Linked DNA regions of Homo sapiens: all the other regions are linked to region 1. Evidence: promoter capture Hi-C in 16 types of primary human blood cells and fetal thymus (Javierre and others, 2016). All regions are on one chromosome and are shown on one strand. Each heading gives the region's core, a stretch centred on a gene start or on the middle of the fragment in contact. The rest is flanking DNA. Distances are from core to core; before and after follow the strand shown.

The links. The method cuts DNA at HindIII sites, captures the fragments that hold promoters and counts their contacts. A CHiCAGO score of 5 or more calls a contact.
Region 2: the fragment with the promoter of ZBTB2 here is called in contact with the fragment with the promoter of STXBP5 in region 1 in 2 of 17 cell types (total B cells and naive CD8 T cells); the score reaches 7.5 in total B cells.
Region 3: a contact is called between the fragment with the promoter of LTV1 here and the fragment with the promoter of STXBP5 in region 1, in 1 of 17 cell types (total B cells). The highest score is 6.8, in total B cells.

What each region holds. Positions count from the first base shown.
Region 1 is chr6:147,202,772-147,205,930 of GRCh38, reverse strand. STXBP5 (syntaxin binding protein 5) reads right to left here and starts at 1,514. Exons shown (of 28, transcript NM_001127715.4): 1 at 1,249-1,514. The coding sequence starts at 1,398. It overlaps STXBP5-AS1 (STXBP5 antisense RNA 1), which reads left to right and starts at 1,317. Exons shown (of 11, transcript NR_034115.1): 1 at 1,317-1,518. It overlaps LOC124901422 (a long non-coding RNA gene), which reads left to right and starts at 2,360. Exons shown (of 2, transcript XR_007059803.1): 1 at 2,360-3,115. RefSeq lists silencers at 1,372-1,561, 1,732-1,811, 1,832-1,881, 1,912-2,331. The HindIII fragment of the contact is 4,433 bases long and covers 943-3,159 here.
Region 2 is chr6:151,390,012-151,393,170 of GRCh38, reverse strand. It overlaps ZBTB2 (zinc finger and BTB domain containing 2), which reads left to right and starts at 1,612. Exons shown (of 3, transcript NM_020861.3): 1 at 1,612-1,751. LOC124901232 (translation initiation factor IF-2-like) reads right to left here. Exons shown (of 3, transcript XM_047419613.1): 2 at 2,699-3,159; 3 at 1-2,466. The coding sequence ends at 1,567. RefSeq lists an enhancer at 727-1,599 and silencers at 1,581-1,640, 1,651-2,040, 2,121-3,050. The HindIII fragment of the contact is 3,903 bases long and covers 392-3,159 here.
Region 3 is chr6:143,841,675-143,844,833 of GRCh38, reverse strand. LTV1 (LTV1 ribosome biogenesis factor) reads right to left here and starts at 1,496. Exons shown (of 11, transcript NM_032860.5): 1 at 1,354-1,496; 2 at 217-348. The coding sequence starts at 1,356. RefSeq lists enhancers at 993-1,062, 1,253-1,462, 1,643-1,692. The HindIII fragment of the contact is 13,446 bases long and covers 1-3,159 here.

The DNA.
Region 1 (3,159 bases), core at 265-2,764:
AGCGAAATTTTAAAATAGAAAGTCAATAGAGGCGTTAGAATTTAGAACCACTACCACTGATGCAAAACACATACACATGCACTTACTGCTTTTGAAAAAATAAGTGAAACCTACATTAACAAAGTTATTCACATAGAACCTGAAACAAACAAAAATCTAGTCCAGTGATATACTTTAATTTCGCTTTTCCATAATACTGGTATTCCATAGAAGAAAATCTTTTATTAATATTCTATACTACTACATCCGACACCAGATGACTAAAGTTTGCAATGGTCCAAAATTCTGTAAACCCATTAAATGCAATTCATACTTTATTTTGGCAGTATTCATTTCATCATTACTTTATTTGGATGCTAACGCAAGTACTTCTAAGGAAAAGCTGTCATATAATTACTTTAGTCAAGCATTCAGTAGAGCAATAATCAAACCTCTATCCCAACATTTTACACTTGTAACAGAATGAAGATGAGTACAACATACATTTTTGCAATTTACTATTAAGGCCATAATCATTTTAGGGCATTAGACCTATATATATATATATATATATATATATGCACACTTTTAATTAACTCTGACATACAAATACATGGCTATTTATGAGAAAGGCAGGTATTAAAACCGAGGCAAGTTTGTGTTTCTCATTAAGCAGCTGGTGACTTAATTCGCTGCATCATTCTTTCTGAATTACAGAACGCTATGGCAATTATCGTGCCATTAACAGGCAAAAATCTCAGTACTTTTTAACAAACATAATGATAAAAAGAACCCTGTGATTTCATATCGTAAGCCACTTACACCACATTTTAAGGGAAAAGTGATGAGCAAAGGTGTGGTAGAACAGGTTTGGCTTTTTGATAAACAACATTCATTAGACACCGTTTCCAAAGGAAACTTCGAAGTTGGTGAATCATATTAAAACGCTTGAATATAAAAGCTTCCAGGTTATTACTGGCAGTGTCAGAATACGATTAAAGGTCGGATAATAGTTTGAAGCAACCTTGAACTGATTGCTGCATGTGCAAAGGGGAGAGAGAAAAATCAATGAAAAGGAGTAAGGTATCAATCTCCAAAACAACCCACCGAAGAAACGTTTGCCAAGGGAGGAGCGAGCCTTTTATTAGAGTTATTATTATTATTATTGGCGTTCTCTTCCCTTGCATTCCCATGTAAAGCCCGAGTAGCCCCCTTAAAACAACCCCAATTTTTCAATGACGGTGTCGCGGGGCTGCGCGCTCCGTTCACCTTGCAGAGCTGAAAGTGCTCGGACTGGAGCGTTTCCTGGATCTCCGGCTCCCGGTTCCCAGGCGGATGCTGCTGCTGTTGCTGCTGCGACGCCGAGGACGAGCCGGCGGTCAGGCCGTCCAGCACCTTCCTGATGTTGAATTTCCTCATGGTCTCGGAGGGGCTCCCCCGCAGCCCGGGAGGGGAGGCACAGGGGGTCCCCGGGCGGGGGAGACCACCCGGGGCCGAAGGCAGCTTCGACCGCGGAAACGGAGGAGTGGGAGTGTGAGGGTAAGGAGGCAGCTGGGGGGAAGCAAAAGATAATCCGAACAGGAAATACTGCGACGACAAGAGCGGCGGCCGCAAGAAACCTGGGCGGCGACCCCTCTTCCTCCGAGGCCGCCGCTGCTTGGCGCGGCTGCTGTGGTGCCGATTCAGCCGCCGCCGCCGCCGCCTCGCTCCGCGGCCCGGCAGCAGCAGCAGCAGCAGTGGCGGCGGCGCCCGAGCCCGCTCAGCCCAGCCTCACCTGGCCGCGGGCGGACTCTGCGCCGCGCCGCCGCCCCGGCTCGCCCCCGGCGCCGCCACCGTCGCCGCTGCGTCCATGGCCCGCGGCCGCGCCGCTGCTCGCCCGCCCCGGCCCCGCAGTCCCTCGGCGCGTCCTCCGGCTCCTTCTCCTCCTGCCGGGGGTCGCCGGCTCTCTGTCCGCGGCCGCCGCTCGGCCTCGCACACAAGGCGCCTGGTGTGGGTCCCCGCGCCGCCTGCCTCGCCCCGCCTCGCTCCTCCGCCGCTGGACCGGCCCGCCCTCGCCGCTCCCGAGCCCGGCTGCGTTCCTCAGGCGCCGCCGCGGCCGTCGGCTCTCCCCGCCCAGCCGCTCCCCATCGCCTGACAGGGCGCCTCGGCACACGGCACCAACGCCCGCCCGGAGCAGCAGCGGCAGCCGCGGTTACAGCGCGGGCCGCGGCGGTGGCGGCAGCAGGGCCTCCCAGGAGCCGGGCTGCGGTACCTGCGCATGCGCGCCGCAGCCCGGTTCCCCCACCCTGGCCCAGCAGGCCCCCAGCCCCCCAGCCCGAGCGAAGCTGGGGCTTAAATTATCTTCTGCGAAAATCCCAGACGCTGGCTAAATTTCTCCCACCCCAGTCGAGTTGCCAGAGTATGCAGCTGCTTCTCTTGCAGCTGGCATAGTAAAAATGTTGACGACTAACAAGCAGCAGGAAACCTTTCTTTCCAATTCAGTCATTACAGCAGGGGTTGATGCTTTCTCGCCGTTAATGGGGTGCACGCTCCTGGCCGCTGGCTGCAGTATTATTTTTCTTGCTTTATTGACGGGCGTTGTTTTTGTTTGATTGGATTTGAGTTTTGAAAAAGAGCGTCTAGACAACGATATGTCAGTGGCAGGAGGATGATGGACTTAGGTACTAGGAAAAGGAGAGAAACCTAGACGGGAAAAAACGGGTTCTTTCCTACAGCTGTTACTGTTGGTGGAACGTGTCTGGTCTTAGCAGTTAGCTGCTGGGATGGAAGAGGCTGCCAGCGGGGAACGGTTCCAGGGCCGGTGTCAGCCCGGGCCGATGACACTACCCCGCACCCAGCCCCTCGCCGGGGAGGAGCGCGGGTGGCAGGAAACGCCGCGCTGCCACTATTTTTCAGAACCTTCAATCTGCCCTGACGCTGATGAGCCACTCAGTAATGCCCTGGGAGCTTCACTCTAGAACGGGGAAAGGGGGATAGGATGAAGTTTTTGCTCAGATCTTTCCGAGGCCGCACTGCCCATCTCGCGTGAATGCTTGGAGACAAATGCCTGGCTCAAGTTGGAAAAGACAGACAAGAGATTGTGCCGGGGAAACCCCCCGGAGAGTGCGTTCAACAGGACAGGTGGACGGAAGCACAGGTACTTGATTAGGAAGGATGTGGAAATAGGAAAGACGTAAGGAA
Region 2 (3,159 bases), core at 363-2,862, 4.2 Mb before region 1:
TCAACATCATTTTAGTTCCCTAGTAAGATGAGACAGACCTCAATACTCAAGCCAATCCAAGGAACCAGGCACCAGTCTGAAGGCCAACTTTGATATTCCAGTGACAGCGGTGCAGTAGAATACTTAGATCAGGGTCAGAATTTGGTTTTGGAGGCAGACATTTACCCACTAAAGTCATTTATCTAGCTGATCAAAAAACAGGAAAGTTCAAAGCGAGTATACACTGAATCTATTATCCATTTGAGAGCCACTGAAGCTACACAGCTGCTTATTTTGTCTTCAAAGAAGGAATTAGTCATCAGTACCTGCAGGTATAACTGGATTTCTAAATCAAACTCAGATTTTTAGGAGGGACACTTCTATGTATTAAATTGTCTTAAGATGGTAAGCTTGCCTTAAATGATTTGTAAACTATGTGCCAGGCATTGTGCTAGTGGTCAGACTGTGTAAACCAAAATGGGTTAGACATCACAACCAAGTTAGCATGCCTTGAAACCAGAGTATCCTAGAAACTGCTGCCTCCACTTCCTTAGGAATAAAGCCATATCCTTTCTAAATCTCAAAAAATCCTAGATGTGTAAAGAAATCATTAAATTCTAGTCCTCAAAGGACTGTATTTCCCCAAAAAAGACACGGATTCTAGAAAAATGGCAACAACCAAAAAGTAAACTTTAAAATGTTAAAAATGACCATCAGGAAATTCTAACTTCCCTGCCATGTTTCCGTGTTTCAGGATCTCCCCGTTAAAAGATTTTCCACACCTCTAAATCTAACAGAATAGCCAACTCTGGAATCCATACCTCAAAGACCAAAACCTAACAGGAGAATAAACTGTTCTCTTAACAAACATGCGTTGCAGACTTTCATTTTTGGGGGGGCCAAAACTTCAAAAACGAAAATCGTTGCTGAAATAACCATGAAATTCAACCCTAACAGAAACATCTTACGCCGCTCAACTCATCTGCAAGGTAAAGGAAGCACCTCTGCCTCTGTGCACGCTACAGGAATCTGTACTTCAGCATGACTTTCAGTTACCATTGGTGACACAAAGATACTGCTGGTTTACAGTATCTCCCCGGTTCTAAAGGCCACTCCATTTCAAGTCTTAAAGATTAAAACAAACACGAAAAGTCAAGGGACAAGGGTAAAGGCCAAGAGATCTCAAGCAGAAGCCGGCAGAAGGATACGAGCAGTGGCTCTCCATCTCTACCCCGAGCATCTCAAGGACTTGTGCTACCTAAACACTTTATGTAAACAAGGGGCTTGTGACTCAGGCCTCCAGCCCCAATAGGTGGAGAGAAGTTTCCTCGCCTCGGCTGCACATGGTCTGCAGAAGTTTGGCTGGAGCAGAGCGCGGAGCCTGGGTGGGAGCGGCAGTGGAGTGCTGCAGGCGGCGGCGGCGGCGGCAGAGCAGCAGGAGGCGGAGGCGGGCGGGGGGAGGGGAGCGGCTGGGGGGGGGGCGGAGGGGGCTCTTGCCGCCACTGCTCTCTCGCCGCCTCTCCCCCCCGGCGGGAGCCGCTCGCAGCCTCTTTGCACTAGTCTCTCCGCTCTCTCGGTCATGTGACCTTAACGTAACCGGACAGGAAAAGCCCCGCCGCCGCCGCCGCCGCCGCGCCGGAGACACCGACCGCGGCGGCAGCAGCAGCAGCAGCAGCGAGAGGCAGAGGCGGCGGCGGCGGGGAGGACAGCACGGCCGAGGCTGCCCAGAGGCGCCTCCTCCACACCCCCCGCCGCAGCAGCACCGGCGACAGGTAAGCGCGCACCGCCTCCGCCTCCCGGGGCCGGTGCCCACGTGCCACCCCCAGCCCAGGGTCCGGGAAGGCGGTGGGGGGGCGGGGGCCACCGGAGCTCGCAAACGGTTCCGGCAGAGGCGGTGGCAACAAAGACGACGAATGACCCTCGTACCAGGGCTACGGGTGCAGGCAGGCGGAAGGCCCGGGCCACTCGGGGACCCGGTTCTGGGAAGCGAGGGCAGGGGCGCCTCGCGGGGGCGGCGGCGGCTGCGCCTGGCGCCGGGGCTCTGGCCGCTTGACAAAACCATCCCCCGGAGCCAGGCGGCGGCGAGTCGGCGGCGCCTCCATCCGGGGTTTTGTGGGAGGGGGAGGGGACGGAAGCCGAGAGGGCGGGCGGCGGATCGGAGGGAGGGTGGGAGGGAGGAAGGGGAGGGGGGCGATTCGCGTTCGGTTCCCCGTGGCCGGTCCCTCCCTTCCCGCCGCCACCGCGAAGTGCGCCCTGGGCGGCGGCGGCCGGTGAGCGTCCCGCGCTGGAGCCCTCAGAGGCGGGCCCGTCAGGTGCGTAATCCTTCCGACGCCTCGCCGCCGCCTCCTGCTGCTGCCGCCGCTGCTGCTTCGGCGGCAAGGCCGCGAGCTGCGGAAGTGGGTTTGGGGGAGGGGAGGGAGGAGGGAGGGGGAGGGGAGGGATCCGGTCCGACCGGAGCAGGCCCGGCCTCTCTGGCGCTTCTCCCAGCTGCAGCGGCTCCTACAGCTGCTGCCGCTACTGCTGCGGCTCCGCCTCCCGCTCGCGGGCGGGGGCGCGCACGCGCGCTTCCGGCCTCCTCGGGTCTCGCGCTGTCTCCGGCTCTCGCGCGCGCTCATCCCTCTCCCTCTCTCCCTGTCTGGGCCACCCCCGCCCCCGGCGCCGGGGCTGTTGCGCCGGCCGGGGCGTTGCGCACGGCGTAGGCGTCGGCATTGTGTTAAACTCCGCGGGACTTGGGGCGAGCGCGCGCGCGCACGCGGGACTGAGGGAAGCGGCGAGCGTGCAACGCGGCCGGAGTGCGTCGCCCCTCCCTCCCCCTCAGCCCCTCGGGGACGGGGACAGGGAGGGGGCGGGGCCGGCGAGACCGGAGGGGGCCAGAGGGCCCCGGCGCCGCGCCCCCGGCCCCGCCCCGGGGCGGGTGGGACGAGGTGGCTGTTGCGGCGCGCTCAGGCGGGCGGGGGACGCGTCGGCCTCTGTGGCGCCGCCCTTGTCGCCTGCTCGCTGAGGCTGCAGGCCGGGCCCCAGTCCCGGGTACGGAGCGTGTTGAGCCGGCGGCCTCCAGCTTCCGCCCGACGCGCCATCTGCGCCTGCGATACAGCCCGGTTTGGCCCCGAGCGCGCTGTGCTTTCGGCTGCTTAGCCTTGGGGCGTGGGACCCGCGCGGCCCTCACGCCCCAACCGGACT
Region 3 (3,159 bases), core at 247-2,746, 3.4 Mb after region 1:
GCTAACAATTTATTAAAAACTATTAACATAGCAAGGCGTGGTGGCTCATGCCTGTAATCCCAGCACTTTTGGAGGCCAAGCTGGGAGGACTGCTTAAGTCCAGGAGTTCGAGACCAGCCTGGGCAACGTGCTAAGACTCTATTTATTTAAAAAAAAAAAAAGAAAAAAAAAACTATTGTCTACCTACAAACTGACTGGCTAAAGAACAGGACCTACTTTTTGTGTGGGCAATAGAACCCTCTGGGGTGCACTCTCATCTGCTGCTAAAGGATCTCGTTGGCTCCGGTGGACCAAGTGAAAAGACACAGCTTTCTTCTTCTCTATAAAGGGCTTTTTCTTCCTGTGAGGCTTCAAAGGAACAAAATCACAACAATTAATTAAAACAGAACAAAAAGACGGAGAATAATTCCATAGTCCACACATGCATCTTTAGTAGTCATGTTAAAGATACTTTTTAAAAATCTACACTTCTAGGGCAGGCAACATCAGCTGTGTTCTGCAGAATCCATACTTAACCTTCCTTCAACAAACATTCCTTGAGCACCTACTTTGTGCCAGACCTTGTTATGGGAACTGAGAATACAGAAGTGGGAAAGTCAGATAAAGTCCCTGTTCTTAGCAAGAAAATCAAGATAATTTCCGGTGAAGAAAATATAAGACAGTGACGTGAAAATGCCTTAAAAGCTACTTTACACTGGCTGCTCAGGGAAGGCCCCTGGCCGACTGAACTAGAATGACAAGAAGCCTGCCACAACATAATCTGGAGTAGACAGCTCCACACAGAGCATCTACCAACCAGTAAATAAAATCACGACACAAACAGCTAAAGTTTAATAAGATCCATCACCTCTTTCTACATTCTTACTTCGCTATTCAATTTTGATTCTCTAAACTGGGAAACCAATTAAGTGGCTTTACTTTGGGCCCAACCTTATGCTCTCCCACAAGTTCCCTTTCTCAGAGGAAACAGACAGGCAGACACCTGCCACTCCAACGCTGAGGGAGACCAGCAGCTCCCTCTGCTCGACCCCAAGAAGCACAGGGTTGCGCGTTTGTGTCGGCAGTCACCAGCTTTTAGTTAACCGAAATCACGCAGGGCTGCAGGCTCCCAGGGATAAAACAAAAAGGCCATTCTCCTCTCCGGGCCACATCCCAGGGAGGCTCGGCGGTGGGAGACTGTAACTTGCAAAGAATGCCCACGGTGGTGACGTTGGCCCATTTCGGGGTACCGTGCCGCAAGCAGCCTCTGGCATGACCCAGACCCGGGCCGCAGTAGCCAAGGTATTACCGGAAGCAGCCTGGCCTCTGCAAAACCACAGCGCTCGGCCGCCGAAACAAGCAAGGCTTGCTCACCATGCTGCAGCCGCGCGGCGCTCACCCCCAACAGGGGCGGCGATGACACCCTCGAAGTCCGGCGGGGAGACCAAGGTCCAGCTGAAGGCCGCTTCTGTAGGCCTCACCACACGTGCAGCCCCAGGACCCGGCGATAACGTCACCCAGCCGGCCGTGGAAACGGACCAATCGCCGAGGAGCTGATGGGTCGCGACCGGAAGTTACATAGGCTCGCTGCGTCTCCACGATCGCGAGAAGCCACCGGGAGGTGGGGCTAGCTCGGCTCCCACCCCTGGGCGGGCTGTACTTTTCCGGCCTTTAGTCTCCCGCCGGGCAAAGGGAATCGTGGGGGTCCTTAACGTTGAGGCGCCACAGAGGGGTTTCTGCTTGTGGACGAACCTTTTATAGCTCCCTCTACGGAGACCAGAGGGGACGAATCTAGCATCCCCCTTGACTTGTGTCCCTTACCTATTCCCAACCATAAAAAACAAAGCCGCGGACACGGAAGGGAGGCGACCACCCCGCTGGGGTGCTGGGGTCGCCAAGTTTCAGGTTCCCTCTCCGGGTGGGGGCGGAGTCGGTTGCCGTAGCAACGGAGGCTGGGGCCTTGCCTTTATAGACTGCATCAGACTTGATCAGGTTATATTTTCCACTGTTTCATGAACTGCTTTCATCTGCCCTGTTAACCAAACCCCCGAGACTCTGTTAACTGTAGAGGCATTTGAACTAATAAAATATATTCAGAATCTCTGGTGTTTGAATGTTAACTTTCTCCCCCTGTTTAAACAAATAGGCTATAAGCACGCATTCTTAGGAAGATTTCAGGCCGGCGTTGGCGTACTCACATAGCTTTTCTTGGACGAAAGTGTGTGGTAAATGCAGTCACTTTCATCAGCAGACCTTTTTTTCAAATTTGTTTCCCCAACTTCCCAGTTTCTGGTGACCTCTCAATGAATGGCTTACCCTGGATTGTGTCTTTATGCCGTAGGCATTATCACTGTAAGTATTTGTGGAGTATTATTCTTTTATTACAGTAAAAATTATAGAAATAGGCCAGGCGCGGTGGCTCATGTCTGTCATCCCAGCACTTTGGGAGGCCGAAGCGGGTGGATCACCTGAGGTCAGGAGTTCAAGACCAGACTAGCCAACGTGGTGAAACCCCGTCTCTACTAAAAATACAAAACTTAGCCAGGTGTGATGGCAGGTGCCTGTAATCCCAACTACTTGGGAGGTTGAGGCAGGAGAATAGCTTGAACCCGGGAGGCAGAGGTTGCAGTGAGCTGAGATCATGCCATTGCACTCCAGCCTGGGCGACAAGAGCGAAACTCTGTCTCAAAAATATATATATATAGAAATAATTTAGGTTAGGACCATAAAACTTGTCTTAGGATATTGCTTTGTAACAGAGATAATACATAGCACTCCTATGTGCCAGAGATTCGTTGTTATTATTCATTATATAGAATTAAAAGATCCAAGGGGGCAGTTTTCATTTCCTTTCAATCAGTTGTACTTACTGCTGTATCATCAGGGGCCTGATGCATGGGGCATATATGCTCAGTAAGTATTTATTTAAATGAATTAATGTTCTGGCACTTTATCTGAATCATCTCATTTCATCCTCACTGCAACACTATGAAAGAGACGCAATTATCTTCAGCATCTTACAAATCCTAAAAATGAGGCAAGAGAAATACAAACTAAGTACTAAGCCCCCCAGCTGACTGAACGGACTCCCTTTTGGCCAAGGGGACCCAGAGTAACCTTGAAAACTGAGTTCTTGCTTTGCCTTGTTATATCCCCTCCCTCACTAACCAGGATCAGGCT